Regions from separate parts of the Homo sapiens genome. Here regions 1 and 3 are each linked to region 2. Evidence: promoter capture Hi-C in 16 types of primary human blood cells and fetal thymus (Javierre and others, 2016). All regions are on one chromosome and are shown on one strand. The core of a region is centred on a gene start or on the middle of the fragment in contact, and the rest is flanking DNA. Distances in the headings are between cores, read along the strand shown.

Region 1 (3,422 bases), core at 836-3,335, 150 kb before region 2:
AGGTGTTTGGGTCATGGGGGCCATCATCCGCCCATCTTGGCCTCCCAAAGTGGTGCCATTCTTGAGGGATTGAGTGAACTCTCACTCTCAGTTCCCTCAAGATCTGGTTGTTAAAGAGTCTGGCACCTCCCTCCTCCCTGTCTTTCCTCCTCTCTTGTCACATGATGCCATCTCTTATTCCCTTTCTGCCATGAGTGGAAGCTTCCGGAGGCCCTCACCAGAAGCAGATGCTGCTGCTATGCTTCCTGTAAAGCCTGGCAGAACCATATTGCCCAGCCTCAGGTATTCCTTTACAACAATGCAAAATGGACTAAGACAAATAGTGTATACTGCTGCACAACAATGTAAATGCACCTAATATCACTAGGCTGTATACTTAAAAGTGGTTAAGATGGTAAATTTTGGCCAGGCACGGTGGCTCATGCCCGTAATCCCACACTTTGGAAGGCTGAGGCGGGAGGATCACTTGAGGCTAGGAGTTCAAGACTAGCCTGGCCAACATAGTGAAACCCCCATCTCTACTAAAAATACAAAAATTAGCCAGGCATGGGGACACATGCCTGTAATCTCAGCTACTCGAAAGGCTGAGGCATGAGAATTGCTTGAACCTGGGAGGTGGAGGTTGTAGTGAGCTGAGCTCACACCATTGCACTTCAGTCCGGGCAACAGAGTAAGACTTCATCTCAAAAAAAAAAAAAAAAAAAAAAAAGACGGTAAATTTTATGTTATGTATATTTTACCACAATTAAAAATTTTGTTTTTAAATATATTGGGGAGAAAATGCTCAGAGAATAAATAATTCATCAGTAAATAAGAGATCAGGGTAGCAGGAAAGAAAAGAGGTACAGTATCTGACAGGGGCCACATTTAGCCCCCTTTTGGGACAAGAGGAAATGAGGAAGAGAGGGCATAGAAAGAGCACTGGCCTTGCAGTTACTTGGGTTTAAAGCATGGTTCTGAATTTGAACTATTCTGTAACCTTCATAAGCTTCAGTAACACTTTCTGTACAATTGGGATAATAGTACCACTTTCTGCCTATCATAGGGAGGATGTAAGGAATCAAACCAGACAGTGAAATCAAATAAGTAATACACTCTGAGTATACCCATTTTGTAAACTTTACCTCTCCACATTCCAAACAGGTTCAATTTGCTGCCAAGTCAAGCTGCTGCTATGAACCAGCCAGCTCTGACCTACCCATTGAATTTCATCTCAAGACACAGAACATTTGATTTCAAACCATAGAGTGAGGAGGTAGACCAGGGAGGAAGCAGCATCTGTATAGCACGTTTCCTTTCTCCTCCCACTTGCGGGCACTTGGGAAAGCAATCTGAGTGTTCCAAAAGGTCACACACTGTCTAGGCCATGTCAGTGGTGGCTATTCCTCGCTACAGCTGGTAAATTGATATTTAATAGATTTAATAGTTTTTCATTACTTTTAAGAGTCTGATAATGGAAACATTAAATAAATGTAACATATATAAATATAAATACAAAAGAATTGTGTGCCTCTTTTGCATGTGGAATTTAAGAACAAGAGCTTCATCACTGCTGGGTCTGATATCAACATTGCCTGCTTAAAACATAGCAGTGGCTTACAAGGATCTTGACACTACACAGGATGGATGGCTTTTGGTAACATGGAAACTGGTCATCCTGTTTATGGATGGCTATTTTTCTGCCCTCCTTTCATCCCCTTTTCTCAGACAGTTCTATTGGTGAACATATTCACCAAAGTAGAGGAAGGGAGAGAAGATGAAAAATCATGTAGATGTTACAAGTGCTGTCTCCAGCAAGGCTTAGATAAGAGGATTGAGATCATTGCACACCATCTACAAATGTCAAATATTTGTATTATTCAGATCCCCATTATGGCAGAAAACTGCTGAGTTATCTCCTTCCCTAGTCTTTATCTAGAAGGATGGTGTTTCTCACTGTATGTACTTGGGACTGCTAATGGCCCATGTGGATGAGCCAGGAGTTAGTCTTACAGTATTAATGATTATGACTTAGTTTCTTGGCTTGAATAGATAATTCATTCATCATTGCTTGACTGTACAAGACCAGTCCTTCATCACTGGGTGCACACACAAGTGGCTGTTCCACAGTGTTCCCAGGAGGCTTAAAGACCCCTGATTCCATATTTTGCCTTCAGATATCTGGGTTGGGGCCTAGTTTTCATGACTGGTTTAGACTTTCTGCAACTAAAGAGCTTAATCTTTGGTTCTTGGACCTCTGTGGATTTTGGTGGCCTCCAAAAGAGGAGTTGTGAAGGTTTCTCTAACAACCCTGACTCCACGGGTTCCTTACAGTCTCAGCCAAGTTTCCATCTGCCCCATCTCCCCCAGCAGCCAGTGGGAGAGGGTCTGACACCTGTGTGTTTATGAGAAAGTGGCATCATCTCGGTGCCTCACGGAGAGCTATGCCAGGCAGCTCCTCATTGCAAAGATGTGGTGTTTTTAACTAATACGGTATAACCTAGATATCAACCAGGGTCTCAGGACCTTTTCAGAGTTAGATAAGATTGATTCAAACATTTTCCCATTGGTTGTAGAAGTACAGAGCTGTGGCAAGATTTATCTGAATTCCTGGAGGTTTTTTAGTATCAACTCTTCTCTAAATTAGTTTCTTTGCCAAGTTTTGTTCTCCTCTCTGCATCTGGCAGCTGTTCTTCATTTCTGCTGTTCCTTTGATCCAACCCAGGGTCACAGAGCTTTCTTCTGCTTTGCTACTGCGGTGGGTGGCAGCGGAGACAGAGGGAGACTCTGAGCCCTCCCATTAAAGCCCCTCTTCCAAAGCCTTGAGACGCAGAGTAGGCTTCCAAGCACCCAGTGGGAGGGACTCAGCACACAGAGAGCGCTGCTGAAAGTCCTTTTCAAAAGCCCTACCTGTCCTTGCCATCAGCCTTTTCACTCCTGATTCTGATGAGGAGTTTAAGGGTTATGAAACCAATATTTGGGTATCTTATTTGCATAGTTGCCTCTCAGACTGCCCCCCCACAACCACCACATTGGAATATCATAATTAGTGTGTCTTATTCAGGTATGGGGTGGTTTTAGGGCCCGCACCTCACAGTCGTTACCGCCTCCAAGTCCTGGCTTGAACCTCAAGTTGATCTTCTTCTCTTTGCAAACCAGCTGAATGACTGCAGTTTGGAAGACAGAACTTGCTGGGGGGAAAGAAAAGCTTGACTATGTGCTGTTAAACACCCTGCTTAGAGAACATTCGTTTGTTGAGTTCCAAATAATTCAGCAAAGAAAAACAATCTCACTGTTTCAAAAATGTAGTTTCATTGTTGTAAAATGAATTATTTGATTAATGGCAGTATTTTAGATTTTTTAAAATGTCTTAATTACTTACTATTTTGAACTGAAATATTATTATCAAAAGATTTTGTCCCACTTAAGAGGCAATGGCTTGT
Region 2 (3,744 bases), core at 347-2,846:
CAAGGCATTTTTGCGATCAAGTGCAAATAGCTTGCCTAAAAATAAAGCCAATAAAGAGAACCGTGGAGCCAGAGATGGAGGCAGTCCTGCCATGTCCTAATGACCCCATCATCACTTGGGTCGGATGCAACCAGACTTGAGGTAAGATTCCTTACCTTAACTTTTCAACAAGGAACCAAAAATTTCCCCCCGACCTTTTTTTTTTTTTTTTTGGTCTAAGCTAGTTTGACTTGGTTTTCTGACCAATATACATAGCAGGGGAATGTGCCTCAGAAAGGCAGTAGCATTTTCCAAACTTGGGCTGCCGCTAATTTTACAACCAAAGTACCTTCCGCCTGTGAGAGGTACTATTTTTGCTGACCCAGTCCTTGGAATTGAAACCAGATGCACTGGTCACATTGGTTGGGGATGAAACTTCAGAGAACACTAAACGTCCAGGGTCAAAGTATTCAACGATATCACCGCATGATTTGCTTAATCGAATACTCTAGCTCTAGGTATCCACTATAATGCAGAGGGCTCTTTAATCTTTAACCAAATTGTCATTTAGCAGTGTGATGCAAAAACTCTTCTGGGTTTTGGGAAGCAGCCCCCATTTCCCTCCTTCGTAATGATTAGACTTAATATTACAAAAACTTATCCTTGTTTACTCACAGCGCTAAATGTGCAAAGGAGCAAACCTGTATTTGACCTATGCGAACACACAGGAGGGTGGTGCGTGCCCTCTGCTAGGAGCACAATGCGTCGCTGGCGTTATTAGAGGACATCTCTCTGAGCGGAGCAAAGGTAATACACTGGTGGAAGAAAAGAAAAGGCCGAAAGTGGGGACAGAAATTAAGACGATCCCATTCAGTCTCCTCTGGAACGTTCTGCAAAATTCCGTGAGACCCTGGACCTACAGCGATGCACTCTCAGGGACTGCCCCGGCCTTCATCCCCACACCTCAAAGACAGACGAAAAGCAGCTGAGCAGATCTCGCCTCGGGCAATCCTAAACAGCCTCTACCAGGCACAACCAGTCCTAGGCCCCGGGCGGCAACCATGGTCCGGGGGCAGCTGACTTAGGACAGCCTCCCTGTGACCCGCCCTCGCCGGCACGGCGCCGGCTCCGCCCCTTAAGCCCCCTAAGTCCCGCCTCTGCGCTCCCGGGGCCTACCCCCGCGCTCATGGCCCCGCCCCCGCTTTTCCTACCCCATCGCGCCCTGGCCCCGCTCCCACACTCTATGACCCCGCCTCTCGCACTCCAGGCCCGCCCCACGCGCTCCAGGGTTCTGCTCTCCACCCATTTGTGCCAGGCCACGCCCCCACACCCATGGCTCCTCCTCTCGCACGCCAGGGCCTCCCCTCGCGCTCTCTGGTTCGTTCTCCACCCTCTTGAGCCTTGATGCCGCCCCCTCTTCCATGGCCCCGCCTCTCCCACTCCAGGCCCGCCCTTGCGCTCTCGGGTTCCTCTCTCCACCCACTGGTGCCAGGCCTCGCCCCGCGCCAGGGCCCCTCCCCCACGTGCCCTCGGGAGTCCCGGGGAGGAGTTGCCGCGCGGAGGAGGCGTGGCCGCGGTGCCTGCGGAGGCGCGAGCGGCGCGGCGCGGCGCGGCCGGGACTTTGGCTTTGACACCGACTGCGAGCGGGAGCCGTGCGGCTGGTGCTGGGTCTGGACTGGCTCTGGCGGATCCCCGCCCGAGTTGGGCGCAGGACTTTTTGCCGGGGTAAACGCAACTGCGGCGGCGCCGCCGCAAGCCCCGGTGCAGCCTCGGCGGCGGGTTTCGCCGCCGCTGCCGCCGCCTCCGAGCAGCCCTGCGGCTTCTATTCACTCTGGGAGAGCGATGCTAAGTTTCTCCCATAGAAAGAGCCGGGACACGCAGACCGAAGCGGCGTAGTCGGCTTCCAGGGCCTGACCAGTGACCCACACCCGCGCGGACGCCTAGGCTGGAGGCAGGGGGCCCGTGCTGTCCCGGGCTGGGCTCAGGCTTCCGAGCCGCAGGTGGAAGAGGAACCGGCGCCCCGCAGAGCGGCCGAGAGGTGGGGCGCGGGGACCCGCGGCAGGTCGGGTGGGGGGTCGATAAGCCCCTTCTCAGTGCCCGCTCCGGGGAGCACGGACTTCCCAGGTTGCAGGTAGCGCTGTGTCAGATGCGGAGCGTGGGGGAGGTGGAGTGGCCACCCCGTCTGCGCGAGCCCAAGTGTGGGTGACCCAAGTGTCAGAGTTGAGAGAGGCCTGGAGGAGAGGCATGAGGCTGATGGGGATAGGTCTCTTCCCAAGAGAAGCGGCTCGTAGCCTTTTTGGACTCCAGTGTGATAAAACCCGGACGTCCCTAGAGGAGAATCCACATGGGCCTAGCCTCATTGTGCCTGCGTTTTTAGGGGTTCACGGGCAGCCACCAGTCCCCGACTCCTGGTTACTAACTCTAGCACTAGGTAGGGGGTGCTAATGCAAATTTCTTAATTCAATGGGTTTCTATGTTTATTGATTTATTTTCTAGGCGGCCAAGTGAAAGGTAATTTTGGACACGCCAGGCATGGAAGATTCGGTGTTTGTCTATAGTAACCTCTTCAGTCCCTGAATCCTGCACCTTCCGTTTTTCTGTGCTTGTACGGCCTACTGGGCTTCCTCCCTAGCCAGAGAGCTCTTCTGCAGTGGTGCGGCCTTCCCGGGAGCCTGATCCTGGCGGACCATGGGGAGCACCCTGGGCTGCCACCGCTCCATCCCCAGGGACCCCTCGGACCTGTCCCATAGCCGCAAGTTCAGCGCAGCCTGTAACTTCAGCAACATTCTAGTGAATCAGGAGCGGCTCAACATCAACACTGCCACGGAGGAGGAGCTGATGACCCTGCCTGGGGTGACGCGTGCCGTGGCACGCAGCATCGTGGAGTACCGAGAGTATATCGGTGGCTTCAAGAAGGTGGAGGACCTGGCATTGGTCAGTGGTGTAGGCGCCACCAAGCTGGAGCAGGTCAAGTTTGAGATCTGTGTGAGCAGCAAGGGCAGCTCAGCGCAGCACTCTCCCAGTTCCCTGCGGCGGGACCTGCTAGCGGAGCAGCAGCCTCACCACCTGGCCACAGCTGTGCCCCTCACCCCACGTGTTAACATCAACACAGCCACCCCGGCCCAGCTCATGAGCGTGCGAGGCCTCTCGGAGAAAATGGCCCTCAGCATCGTGGACTTCCGCCGTGAGCATGGGCCCTTTCGCAGCGTTGAGGACCTAGTGAGGATGGATGGTATCAATGCCGCCTTCCTGGACAGGATCCGGCACCAGGTGTTTGCTGAGAGGTCCAGGCCCCCATCCACCCACACGAACGGGGGACTGACCTTCACCGCCAAGCCTCACCCGAGCCCCACTTCCCTGAGCCTGCAGAGTGAGGACCTGGACCTGCCGCCAGGGGGGCCCACCCAGATTATCTCCACTCGGCCGTCCGTGGAGGCCTTTGGAGGCACAAGGGATGGGAGGCCTGTGCTGAGGCTGGCCACCTGGAACTTGCAGGGCTGTTCCGTGGAGAAGGCCAACAACCCCGGGGTGCGAGAGGTGGTGTGCATGACACTCCTGGAAAACAGGTGAGGACAGGAACCACCATGGGTGTTGGGTGTGAAGGCAACTTGTGCGTGACCTCATCTATGGATGCAAATGAATGGATTCTTTTGCGGGTAGGGAGGGTGCAAGAGTTTTTAATCAATGTTCTTGAAGCCTCAGCCAATACCGTCACCTGAGAATGGGCTGTCCTTCTGCTCCAGAATTTTCTGAATACAGCTGGGC
Region 3 (3,356 bases), core at 559-3,058, 160 kb after region 2:
CCCAAAGTGTTGGGATTACAGGTGGGGGCCACTGTGCCCAGCCTCTGAGTGCCACCTCCTGCCTGACAATCAGTCCCTTCCCCAGTTGCCAGGCCCCAGAGATGTTTGTCTCTGTCAGAGAAGAGCCCAGCACTACCCACAAGGTCTACAAGAACCCATATTTGAGGGCGGGGCGTCCAGCAGATGGAAAAGAGGTGGGGAGGTATTCCTTAGGGGAAGAAGGGAGGGCACCGAAGTGAACAGGTGCTCGCTGCCAGCCTTGTCAGCACCACACACCTGGCAAGGCGCCTTAAACCTCACCTCAGCCCCATGGTGCAGAAAAGAAAACCGAAACTCAGAAGATAAGTAACCAGTACCTGGGCCTCGCCGCCAGGAGGCAACAAAGTCAGGATTCCAGCTCAGCTCCGACACCTGTGGCCTGGCTTTTAACAGTTTAGAGGGAGGCTCACAATTAAGAATAAATGCAGAAAAACGTTTGCAGCGGAGATAAAGAGTGTTGTGTGAACCTGAGGAAGGAGGGAGAACCTGCTCAGCTGGAGGCGAGTCTGAGGAGTCTTCCTGGGAGAGGTCCCCTTGAGCGGGGACCTGACCGGGTGAGTAGCAGATGGCATCCCCGGAAGAGGGGACCAGGAGGGCCGGGGTGTGGAGGGAGGACAGCAGTGATGTGGCTGCTCCTGGCAAGAGCTTAGGACGAGATATGGAGAGGAGACTGACGGGAGCCACAGGCCAGCTCTTCCAAGGCAGGCTAAGGATGTTGAGGTGGTTCTGCGGCGCTGGGGAGCATTGCAGGCTTGTGTGGGAGTAGGAACAGGTAGAGGAGGGGGCCTGCATCCGCAGTGCCGGGAGCGGCGCAGGTATCGGGGCAGGGATGGGGGATGGCTCTCGTTGCCGGCATATTATTGTGCGGTCCTTCGGCTAAGGTGTTAGCAGAGCTGGTGGGGGCCAGGTTGGTCACACTAGTCTCAGAGAAAGGCCTGAGGGGCTGGAAAGCAAGTGCAGAGGTGGGCTATTGGGACACTGTTGAGTGTCACAAGGACATGGGTTCGAGTTCTGCCTCCACCCTGACCAGCTTCAGGTTTCTAAGAAGTTGATCTTTGTTAGGTTTAAAAAAAAAGAAAAAAGAAAAATTCAGGAAAAGAGCCAGGTTTGGGGAGAAGATGCTAATCCCCGTTTTGGACAAGTTGAACTAGGGTGCCTATAGGTCAACTGCCCAGGCAGTTGGGAGCGGGTGGGGAAACCTGCCCTTCCAGAGCCTTCCATGATGGGTCTGCTGTGCTCCCGTCAAGGGTGGGACATTCCTCTATGAGAACACACATCAAACCGTGGAGTGCCTCGGCTGTCAGGCCTGCCTCCCAGCCAGACTGCACATGTAGAGAAGTAGAGGGAAGCTTACCTGAAGATGACAGTCCCGATGATGATGATGATGATGATGACGATGGTGATGATTGATCATGATGATGTTTTAAGAGCAGGGAGGCTGTTACCTTTTCTTATGGGCTGAAATGTGTCCCCTCAAAATTTATATTAAAATCCTAACCCCTAGTACTTTAGACTGTGACTTTATTTGCAAATAGGGTCATTGCAGACACAATTAAGATAAGGTCCTACTGGAGTAGAGTGAGCCCTTCATCCTATATGACTTAGTATTCATATAAGAAGAAGAAAAAACAGAAACAAACAGGGAGAGGGCCAAGTGGCCACGGAGGCAGAGATTACAGTGATGGAGCTGCAAGCCAAGGAACACTGCGGAGCAGCGTCCGAGGCTGGAAGAGGAGAGGCAGGGTCCTCCCTGCAGGCTTCAGAGGGAGTGGCCTCGCTCATACCTTGATTTTGGACTCCCTGACTCCAGTACCATGGGTGAATAAATTTCTCTAGTTGTAAGCCTCTCAATTGATGGTAATTTGTTATGACACCCCTAGGAGACTAATAGATGATCATGTCTGTATCCCCAGAACCTGGCACATCATGGCATTGGAGAAGCAAATGAATGAATGAAGTTCAGAGAGGGAATGCAGGAGAACTACTCAGCCCCACAAAGTCAGGTGGAATGTGGCTCTGCCCGCCTCCCCAAAGAAGGCTCTGTAGCCAAGAGCAGCAACAAATAGGCTGAGGGAGACCTGGGATGGTGCCGGTCTCCACCAGCTCACCTCCCTTGGTCTTGTCACCCAGGGCAGATCCTGATGTGGGGAGGGAGAGAGCAGAGAGCAGAGAAACCCTGGGGTTACCAGTGAAGCTTGTCTCTCACCTCAAGGGTGTCCTCTCCCTTCCTTGCTTTCTTCCACCACCACTACCCCATCCTCTCTGCAGTATCTCTGCGTCTGAGCATCAGAGCTAGGGTGACATTTACCCACCCTTTGGGAGTGGGTCCCTGGAAAGGTGCCAGGTGGAGCTGGAGGTTGAAGCAAGTTTCAGGGCATTGACAGGAAGAGAGTGAGGGAAGCCCTGGGTAGCACTAAGAGCATGGCTATAATGGGTGTTATGAGCCCAAACTCCTGTTCAGATCCTTTCCGGAAATTACTATTGGTGTGACTTTGGGAAAGTCACTCGACCCCTCTGAGCCTCTCAGTTTCTTTACCTGAAAAATGGAGGTATGTCTACTACCTTTAATATTGTCATAAAGATTAAATGAAATATATTTGGCATGAAATCGTCACCACCATCATTATCTTCAGTGGTGGCCAAGTGTCTCTAGGGAAGACAGGAGTGCAATGTGGATGGAAAGGTTTGGGGAGTTCCCAGACCACCCAAATCTGTGAGCAGGATGGCACTGAGAAATGCAGAACATGCCCTGGGGATGGGGGCAATTTTCTACAGTCTGGAGGATGTCTTTCAATCCTGGCTTCTGTGCAGAGCTGAGCAGTGTCCAGGGGTGGACGGTCCCCAGCCAAGCATGAGGAGGCCCCTTTGTGGGAGCCAACACCATACAGGGGGACAAGTTCAGATGTCAGGGCCCCATCAGAAGTGGGGGGCACAGAGTTTAAACCACCACTGAAAATAGGCAAGGGGACCCTTGTTGGAAGGAGTTTGCTGGGCATGAGAGAGGCCACCAGTGAGAGTAGGGGCAACCCTGACCTTCAGGGTCAAACCACATAAGGCAGGATTGCCCTGCAGCTTTTGGTTTTGGTGTCTGGCCAATTGCCAGTAGTCAGTGATGGAAGATGCCATTTCCCAAGTACTCTGCTGACTTCTATTGCGACAAATTATTTAATTAAATTATTATTGTTGGGAGGGCATTAGGGACTCGAGTTTTACTGAGCTAAGGAGTGAGTGCAGTGGGTGGGGGATAATGAAAGAAGTCAGATTGGAAGGAGGGTCACGGAAAACAAACGTCCTTGACAAAGGTGGGCGGGGCTCAT

What was found. The method cuts DNA at HindIII sites, captures the fragments that hold promoters and counts their contacts. A CHiCAGO score of 5 or more calls a contact.
Region 1: a fragment that was not itself captured here is called in contact with the fragment with the promoter of EEPD1 in region 2 in 2 of 17 cell types (M2 macrophages and endothelial precursors); the score reaches 5.4 in M2 macrophages.
Region 3: a contact is called between a fragment that was not itself captured here and the fragment with the promoter of EEPD1 in region 2, in 1 of 17 cell types (neutrophils). The highest score is 5.0, in neutrophils.

Annotation. Positions count from the first base shown.
Region 1 is chr7:36,004,204-36,007,625 of GRCh38, forward strand. The region is part of intron 1 of LOC105375233 (a long non-coding RNA gene); the gene reads left to right. Among named protein-coding and RNA genes, the nearest start is that of EEPD1, 150 kb to the right of the region's middle. The HindIII fragment of the contact is 2,199 bases long and covers 987-3,185 here.
Region 2 is chr7:36,151,658-36,155,401 of GRCh38, forward strand. It overlaps EEPD1 (endonuclease/exonuclease/phosphatase family domain containing 1), which reads left to right and starts at 1,597. Exons shown (of 8, transcript NM_030636.3): 1 at 1,597-2,017; 2 at 2,476-3,545. The coding sequence starts at 2,668. RefSeq lists a silencer at 1,009-1,728. The HindIII fragment of the contact is 12,213 bases long and covers 1-3,744 here.
Region 3 is chr7:36,312,383-36,315,738 of GRCh38, forward strand. No RefSeq gene overlaps it. Among named protein-coding and RNA genes, the nearest start is that of MATCAP2, 53 kb to the right of the region's middle. The HindIII fragment of the contact is 845 bases long and covers 1,387-2,231 here.